Linked DNA regions of Homo sapiens: regions 2 and 3 are each linked to region 1. Evidence: promoter capture Hi-C in 16 types of primary human blood cells and fetal thymus (Javierre and others, 2016). All regions are on one chromosome and are shown on one strand. The core of a region is centred on a gene start or on the middle of the fragment in contact, and the rest is flanking DNA. Distances in the headings are between cores, read along the strand shown.

Evidence for each region. The method cuts DNA at HindIII sites, captures the fragments that hold promoters and counts their contacts. A CHiCAGO score of 5 or more calls a contact.
Region 2: a fragment that was not itself captured here is called in contact with the fragment with the promoter of AK7 in region 1 in 1 of 17 cell types (neutrophils); the score reaches 5.5 in neutrophils.
Region 3: a fragment that was not itself captured here is called in contact with the fragment with the promoter of AK7 in region 1 in 1 of 17 cell types (neutrophils); the score reaches 6.0 in neutrophils.

The regions. Positions count from the first base shown.
Region 1 is chr14:96,390,723-96,393,816 of GRCh38, forward strand. AK7 (adenylate kinase 7) reads left to right here and starts at 1,406. Exons shown (of 18, transcript NM_152327.5): 1 at 1,406-1,537. The coding sequence starts at 1,433. RefSeq lists a silencer at 966-1,475. The HindIII fragment of the contact is 12,427 bases long and covers 1-3,094 here.
Region 2 is chr14:95,525,493-95,528,586 of GRCh38, forward strand. No RefSeq gene overlaps it. Among named protein-coding and RNA genes, the nearest start is that of SNHG10, 7.8 kb to the right of the region's middle. The HindIII fragment of the contact is 1,692 bases long and covers 777-2,468 here.
Region 3 is chr14:95,548,779-95,551,872 of GRCh38, forward strand. No RefSeq gene overlaps it. Among named protein-coding and RNA genes, the nearest start is that of GLRX5, 15 kb to the left of the region's middle. The HindIII fragment of the contact is 902 bases long and covers 1,028-1,929 here.

The DNA.
Region 1 (3,094 bases), core at 156-2,655:
TTGCAGTGAGCTGAGATTATGCCATTGCACTCCAGTCTGGGTGACAGAGCGAGACTCCATCTCAAAAAAATAAATTAAAAATAAAAAGAACAAGAACGCTGGCGTGGTGGCTCATGCCTGTAATACCAGCACTTTGGGAGGACGAGGCAGGAGAGTTTCTTGAGCTCCGGAGTTAGAGACTAGCCTGGGCAACAAACATAGTGAGACCCTGTCTCTATTAAAAATAATAAAAAGAACGAGAAGAAACCACGCACACACAATTGCTGCAAGTGTTAAATATTTGCATTTAAGGAGTTAATGCTTAAGGCATGAAAACAGTTCAATATGATCAGGCTATTCCAAGGGAACTGCGTATTCTTAGTCCACCACAACCTTTATGGTCCAGTGATCACCGAGGTGAATGTTATCTTTTAATTTGTGGATTTATCTCAGCAACTGCATGTATAATCTCTTGTGGAACGGTCAAGTCTAAATTTCTTCCCTTGGTGAATGTGAGCGAATCCCGGGCGCCTACGGGCTCTGGTCGCCCCCAGCCGACACCAGGGGTCTTCCCGGAACGTGCGTCTGGAAACAACCCCCAAGGGAGCTGAGCCGGCGGACCAAGCCGCACCTGCCGCAAGGCGGGACCACGCTAGCGTCGCTCGGGTGTTCGGGAGCCCGAAACTCCATGGCAACAGCTTTTCTTCGCAGCTGAGGCTTACGTCCCGTCGCCCCGGCCAGACCACCCCATGGGAGCGTGCTGAGTAACTCCCACGTGTCGGGGAGAGGCCTAGGCTGTGGGCCATTCCCTCTTCTTCAGAATTCTCATTATTTTTAGTCATCGGGTCAAGCGGACACAGGGATGTGTTTCCAGACTTTCCGAACAATGGAGATTAAAAAGGCACAGCAATCACATGGCCCCCCGGGACAGACGCCCAGGGAGCTTCGGAAAGAAACCATGCACTGCCCAAGGGCTCCCAGTGGGCAGCAAGCCAGGGTGAGACCCGGGCTGCACGCGCGGCGCCGCGGAAAGCACTCGCAGGGACATCCGCCTGGCGCCCAGCAGCCGACAGCGCGCGCAGTTGCGAGCCCTGAGCCCCGCTTCGCCCGGCGCGCCCCGCCCAGCCCACTGCACTACACACCCCGCCCTGCCCGGCATGCCCCGCCCAACCCCCCGGCACGACTCGCCCCGCCCTACCCGGCACGCCCCGCCCAGCGACCGGCACAGCCTGCCCCGTCCCGCCTGGCACGCCCTGATTAGCGCCGGGCACGACACGCACCGCCCCGCCCGGCACTCCCTGCTTCGCCCACGACACGCCCCTCCCCGCCCGGCAAACTGCCCGGAGCCAAGGCCCCGCCCCCAGAGAGAACCTGCCCCGCCTCCCTGGCCCGGGCCCCGCCTCCTTGGCAAGCGAGTGGCGCTTTCACCTTAGCAACCAGCGCGGCTCCCACCATGGCTGAAGAAGAGGAAACTGCTGCTCTCACGGAGAAGGTTATCCGGACCCAGAGGGTGTTTATAAACCTGTTGGATTCCTACAGCAGCGGAAACATCGGGAAGGTGAGCGGCGGCGGCGGCCCAGAGCCTCACGCCAGCTCTCAGCTCCCAGCCCTCGGCCCCCGGTCCGCAAACCCAGCGAGGGTCTGCGCCCCAGGGCGCTGTCGGGGCCTTTCCTCAGGGAGGGTCCCGCGTCCTGGGCACCACCAATGCCCCCTGGACCCCAGTCCGCACCCAGGCTGGTCAAGAGATTCTACATGGAAGCTCAGGTGTCTGGAAATCACTGGTCCATCCCCTGTTCCTCCTTTTAATGAGGGGAAACTGAGGCTAAGAGGCAGGGACTTGCCCAAGATCACATAGAGAGTTGAGGCCAGAACCTGGACAGAGACTCCAGGTCTCTTGCCCCCTCCTAGGTTCTCTTTCTACCCTTCCATCGATTTTGAAGCAGGCAGCTAAACGAGAAAATAAATCAATTTTTTTTTTTTGAGACGGAGCCTTGCTCTGTCGCCCAGGCTGGAGTGCAGTGGCGCGATCTCGGCTCACTGCAAGCTCCGCCTCCCGGGTTCACGCCATTCTCCTGCCTCAGCCTCCGAGTAGCTGGGACTACAGGCGCCCGACACCGCGCCCGGCTAATTTTTTGTATTTTTAGCAGAGACGGGGTTTCACTGTGTTAGCCAGGATGGTCTCGATCGATCTCCTGACCTCGTGACCCACCCGTCTCGGCCTCCCAAATTACAGGCCGAGTAAATCCAAAAGGGATTACAGGCGTGAGTAAATCAAATTTTTATATTGCCCATGAAGCGTTTTTCATTCATCCATCCCTTCAATATATGGTTTTTGAGCATCTATTATGGACCAGACACTGTTTGGGTCCCCGAGTTCCATTAAGTTTCCTCACCTTTCTGTGTCTTTATCCCTGGAAAATGAAGATATTCAGAAAAAGGGCTCTGGGGCCCTTCATGCTAATATGATCAGTTGTCAAAAGAAAGCCATGATTTTATCATTCCCTGTGGGTAGGACCCGTCCATCTGAATTCTGTCCTCTAGAGCTACAGAGAAATCTAATCTCACCCTGGACAGACTTCTCTGAGGCTAATGACTGCACTTTCGAACAGGACAAATCTGCTTAAAATAGGATGAGGCTACAGTACGTACAATCTGTATTAGTTTTCTAGGGCTGTGGTAACCAATTGCCACAAACTGGATGACCTTATAAAACAGAAATTATTCTCTCGCAGTTCTTGAGGGCAGAAGTCCAAGATCAAGGTGTCAGCAGGGTTGGTTTCTACTGGAAGCTCCAGGGGAAGAACTGTTGCTTGCCCCTCTCCTAGCTTCTGGTAGTTGCCAATAATTCTTGGCACCCCTTGGCAGTAGACTCCAATCTCTGCCACCTTCTTCACATGGTGTTCTCTCCCCTGTGTCTCTGTGTCAAAACTTCCCTCTTCTCATAAGGACACCAGTTGTTGGATGAGGACTCACCCTATCCAATATGGCTTCATTTTAACTTGATTACATCTGCAAAGACCCTATTTCCAAATAAGGCCACATTCACAGGTTCTAAGAGGACAGGAATTTGGTGGGGGTAGACGCTATTTAACCCAGTGTACCATCTAAAATGCAT
Region 2 (3,094 bases), core at 373-2,872, 870 kb before region 1:
CATGGCCTGTCCCTCCCCAGCGATATGCGTTCCCCAGGTTTTCTTCTCTGCACTCCTTCTTGCCCCCCCACCCGCCCAAATCTCCTTTATCAATAGATCCAGACCCGTAGAGGCAATAATCTGCATACTCTCTCCCTTTATTTCAGACATAACCTGATGATTTAGATGTTCCTCAGGCACCTGGAAACAGAAATGTCCAAAAGTAATTCCTGAACTTACCTTTCCAATCCTCCTTCCCCCTCCCGCTGTATTCCCTGCATCATCAAGTGCAGTCAGTGGCTAAGCAAAACCCTAGGAATAAGCCTGAATCTTCCCCTCTTCCTCCCAGCCCCCTCCCCACAGTCAGCCAGTCACCAAATGCTGTCATCCCTACCTTCAAAGAACTCAGCTTGCAGCAGTGCCCTTCCCCCATGCCCCCACCCCAATACCTGCAAAGGTTAAATCTGATGACCCTCTCCTAAGTGGCCCCGTTAGCTCGGCCACCTCCAATCCATCAACACTCCCGCAAGGGTGATCTCTCAAGCACTCTGCAGCTTACACTCCTCCTGGGACTCTCCCTCATCCAGAGGAGGAGAGCCCAGTCCCTTACCATCTGTCCTCCCCTCAGCTATGTCCAGTCCTGCATTTCTCAAGAAACGGCCTGGCATTCTCCCAGTGGACCCAGGGGCCTCTGTGCCTTTGCCCTGGTTGCTCCCTCTTCCTGGAATGTCCCTCCTTTTTATATAGAAGCACTTTACCCTTCTCTCAAAACTCAGTTCAAGTGTCACCCCCTACTAAGCTTTTCCTATCCCTTAGGCGCTGACTGAGCTTTTTCCGAGAGCTCCATTCCCTTCTCCAGTTCTCGGGGGCATTCTTGCATCTGTCCCCATCACAGGACTGCGAGGTCCTTGGGATTTGGCAGCCTCTTACTCCACTCTGTATCCTGCTTAGCGCAGAGCCTGTGGGTGCCTCACTGAATGTTTCTCCACCTCCTATGGCACCTGTGCTCGATATTATGAGTTTCACACAATTTGGGATTTGCTGAGATCCTGCTCTGTATTGTTCACCAGGTTATGTATTCTTTATTCAAGAATTATCTATTGAACATATAGTAAGTGCCAGGGATGGCACTAGGGCACCAGGTTACAAAAATGAATCCTACCCAACTAGAAGTTGATGGCCTAGTGTGTGCGTGGTGGGGGTGGGGGGAGGAATAAACAGATACAATTACAATGCATACACTCCCTGAAGAGGTTCTGATCCCCAACCACTGTGAAACAGGGCTGGGTAGTAGCACAAGTGAGGTGGTTATATTCTTTGAGGCCTCTAATTGTGTGTCCTGGGTTGACATCAGCATTTGCAGAACCACTTTATGGACGGCCCTTTCTGACGTAACGTCGGCTGAGCTCTCTTATCAAGCCCACTGGTTTACACAGTTAGAAAAATTCAACTTTACACCAGTATTATTCAGTCCCTCAACACCTGATGAAATGTACTAGGTATTTCCAAGGTGTCTTCCAAGTACTAACATGAAGTATGTAACAGAGTTAGAATAACTTTATCTGGCACAATGGAGTAAAGTATTCCTTTTTTTAACATAACCTTAAGCTGTGTGTGTGTGTGTGTGTGTGTAGTTTTTGTTGGCAAGCTAAAATAAACTGCATGTTTCCTTGACTTCCTATTCAGAGCATGGGGAAAAGAATTTCTTTTTCTTGCTCGGAAGCATAATACAAGGCACTAGTGCACAAGGAACAGTCACGGGTGAAGACTGTTCGCCCCTCCTTACATCGAATGCCCCAGAATGCTGCTTTTTAAGAAGAATCCCAGAATGTCTGCCTCTTAGTGCTTCACCTTTCACTTACTGTTCAGTCATTGTTTCTTTCTGCTTTTAGTGTTAGCCTTTTAAAATTTACTGCTTCTGATCTGTTGTGGTTATATTAGAAAACTAAGTAAGTTAGCTATTCCCTAAAATAAGAATAGCACTTGGGTAAGAACTGAGAGACTTTTCCTAGAATTGAGCAAAATGATTAATTCCCAGAGAATGTATAATTACAGGGGCAGCCCTTATTGGCTCTTGCCCCAGCTTCCTCAGTAAAATAGACTAGTGCCCCCTACCTGCCTTGCCAGGAAAGACAGAGACTCATTCTATTATAAAATGTATTTCTCAAAACCAGAATGACTTTGAAAGATGTGTTATTTTTCTGAACACAAGTAAAAATTCCTTCAAGTAAGAGGATATTATTTGCTCTGTAATTAGACAGCCAATAGTATGTGTGGATTATCACGGATCTGTGGCTGCATGGTATGAAGAGATGAACCAACGGGAATATCCCATTGATTTCACATCGACTAGACTGGCATGTCCCCTCAAGGCTGCACTCATACAGCTATGATATGAAAATGCCAGATCACCGTCTATCTGGAGAGGGAAGAAGGTTTGCCAATATAACAGCTTCTCCTCAAGTCACCCAATTTTGCCTATGTAATAAAGCTTATGCAAAAAAAACTCCTTTTTTTTTAAACAAAATGTAATTGTTTTATGATAGTCTTTTTTTTTTTTTTTAAGATGAACTTTTGCTCTTGTTGCCCAGGCTGGAGTGCAATGGCGTGATCTTGGCTCACTGCAACCTCTGCCTCCTGGGTTCAAGTGATTCTCCGGCCTCAGCCTCCTCAGTAGCTTGGATTACAGGCACCCGCCACCACGCCCGGCTAATTTTTTGTATTTTTAGTAGAGATGGGGTTTCACCATGTTGGCCAGGCTGGTCTCAAATTCCTGACCTCAGGTGATCCATCTGCCTCGGCCTCCCAAAGTGCTGGGATTACAGGCATGAGCCACCACACCCAGTCTTTTGATAGTCTTTTATTAAAACTCTTTGAAACTGTGGCTCACTAAAATTTGATATCAATGAACAATATCTCACTAGGATACCCTTTCAAAAAATATTAAGTTTAGAATTAGCAAATAGGATTTTTCTGGCTGTAAAAGGAGAACAAAAAAATTTAAAATCCTCCATTTTTTTTTGCCAGCAAAGGAAAATGAATAATTAATGCCTCATCCCATTTCTAACTTGAATCATCCCTCCCCTCCCTGCAATTAAACTGGGGTGAATTTCTT
Region 3 (3,094 bases), core at 229-2,728, 840 kb before region 1:
GACCCAGGCTGGGCAGAGGCTGAGACTTCAGCTGGGTGTCAGATACCCCTCACCCCTTGCCCTGATCTTGGGGGCGTTAGGGTGCTGTCAGAGTCTGACATAGGTATTAAAATATTTCAAATCTCAAGGAGAACTTCAGAGTTCTTCAGTACATTTACAAGTAAATTGTAATCCTGGGAAACTAGCAGCACACTTCCTGTTATTCTGGCTTCTTAAATTCTTTTGTTTTTTGTTTGTTTTTGAGATGGAGTCTCTCTCTGTTACCCAGGCTGGAGTGCAATGGCGCGGTCTCGGCTCACTGCAGCCTCTGCCTCCTGAGTTCAAGCTATTCTCCTGCCTCAGCCTCCTGAGTAGCTGGGATTACAGGCACCTGCCACCATGCCCAGCTAATTTTTTGTATTTTTAGTAGAGACGGGGTTTCACCATGTTGGCTAGGCTGGTCTCAAACTCCTGACCTCGTGATCCACCCGCCTGGGCCTCCCAAAGCCCTGGGATTACAGGCATGAGCCACCGCGCCTGGCCTTTAAGTTGTTTTTTAACTTTTTTCCATGATTCCTTAGTAAAGTCTCCTTAAAATGATTCTTGGGAGAGCAGAGGGCAAGGGGCAGTGTCAGTTACACCTGACTAAGTTACTTCAGTTCAGGTGCACTTCGTACAAAGTGTGGTGGGATGTCCATGTCCTAATCCCTGGAATGTGTGACTGTGTTACCTGGGGTAAGTTTAAGCTGTGTTTAAGTTCAGGATCTTGAGATAGAGAGATTGTCTTGGATCACCTGGGTGGGCTTAATGTAATCACAGGTGTCCTGGGCAGGAGGGAAGCAGAGGTTGGAGTGATGTACTCTGAAGAGGGCGGAAGGGGCCACAGGCCAAAGATCGCAGGCAGTCTCTAGAGCTGGAAAAGCCAAGGAAACGGATTCTCCCCTGGAGTCTCCAGAAAGAACACAGGCCATGATTTTAGCCCAGTGAAAGTCATTTTAGACTTCTGACCTCCTGCCCTGTAAGATTAAAAATTGGTGTTAAGCCACTAAGCTTGTCATTTGTTACAGCGGCAAAAGGAGACTAATACACCTGGCTGCCTGGATTTTATGGTGGATGCTTACTTGGTATAAGCAGACAGGGGGAAGGGTCAAACAATTATTGAGCATTTAGATCCGTAATTTGTTTCTCACCAAAGATCTGCAAATGTGGGATATTCTCTCTTCCTTTCAGATGATGACACAGAGACTGGGAGGGGGTCAGGTTACTTGTCCAAGGTCACTACCTGGTGGAATTTGAGCTGTGATCAGATCCATATTGTAGCACCCTTCGGAGGGCCGGCTCAGTGAGTGCAGCCGCTTAGTGCAGCTCTGGCTGTGGTGTCCAGAGTGTTCGCCCTGCAGCCCTGAGAAGAACTGAATTTGAGCTTCAGTTGCCTGTTGAAAGAGCCAGGGAGGCCAGGAATTTTGGAAGTTGCCCCTGGCCATCCACTATCAAGTATGTGAAGGAAGCAGAGGGTCCCACCTCTGAGGTCAGACAAATGGAAGGTGAATGCAAATGATGCCTCCTTGCAAATGATGCCAGGGAAAGCCTCCTGGGCCCCGTGTGTTGTGCGGACAGGTGGCCAGGCCAGAGGTCCCACTGGACTTCACTCTGAAATTCCAGACAGCAGGAAGTAAACAAAGTGCTTTACGAGCGAGTTCCCGCGGTCTGCTGGTCTTTCCCTGCACTTCCGTCCGACCTCGGTCACAGCCCTGGGTGGGGTCAGATATTTCTACCCATACTCAGGGCCACCTGTTGCCCCAAGTTCTCACTTCCTGGCAGTGTCCCTCTGCTAGCCCTTGCTGCTGCCCCCACCTTCCTCTGTCTGCCCGCCACCCCCCAGCCTTTTCCTTGGTCACAGTTGTCCTTTTGTTACCTGCGGTTATCAGAAACATGGTCAAATAGGGTATAAGCTTTTAGTATCCCATTCATTTGAAATTTTAACCTCGTTTTTAATAAAACAATGCATGCATATAATTAGTCAAATGATACTTTAAAAACTACAGTAATAATGAAAAACAGCACTCTCCTGCCTTTTGATCCATGGGTCCTGCTCTCTATAGGAAACAAATTTCCATTTCTTAAGCAGTTTCTTCTGTTTCCCTCCATATTTCATTTTCCTTTCTCTTCCTTTCTTTTTTTGTTTTGTTTTGTTTTTTGAGACAGGGTCTCACTCTGTTGCCCAGGCTGGAGTGCAGTGGTGCAATCACGATTCACTGTAACCTCGACTTCCCAGGCTCAGGCGATTCTCCCACCTCAGCCTCTCAAGTAGCTGGGAATACATGTGTGTGCCACTACGCTCAGCTAATTTTTTGTATTTTTAGAAGAGATGGGGTCTCACTGTGTTGCCAGGCTAGCCTCAAACTCCTAGGCTCAAGAGATCCACCCACCTGCTGGGTGGACCCCAAAATGCTGGGATTACAGGCGTGAGCCACTGCACCTAGCCAATATTTTTTAATGTGCTTATATTGCTATTTCTTTGCTAATAAATCAGATATTATCTAATCTCTTTGCCATTTTGATAGATAAGAATGCTCTCATATAATCATCAATCTACCCTACTTCTCACTGTTCCCTATACAATTAGCGCAATCATCAGTCTTTACATTATTATTGACAATATATATGTTAGTGAAATAAATATATATAAATAAGCAAATGCTGTATTCCTTTTTTTAACTTTTATCTCCATTTATTAAAAATTGCCTTTTTTTAGTTGTTTATTTTCTATTTGATTATTTTGTATTGGATTTTTATACAGTGCACAGGCATCTGCCAAATACCTGTCAATAAAGTTTTTCAACAGAAGCATCAGATAACTCATAGTAGCCCTTGCCCCCTGCCAAGCTCCCTCCTGGAATCCTCCACCCTCCAGCTGCCCTCTGATGTCTATCATCATCCTTGCTCTTCCTGTGTTGAGTTTTCTGTTCCCTGTGTCCCGCATCTTGGTCTTTGTGCTTTATTCCTTTGCTCTGCTGGAGCACATCCTGCCAAAGCTTCCTAAAGAAGATGCATGGGTGGTTCACTTTTTGAGACCAGGTCGTTGGAAAAGGTTTCCTTACTCCCATACTGTTAC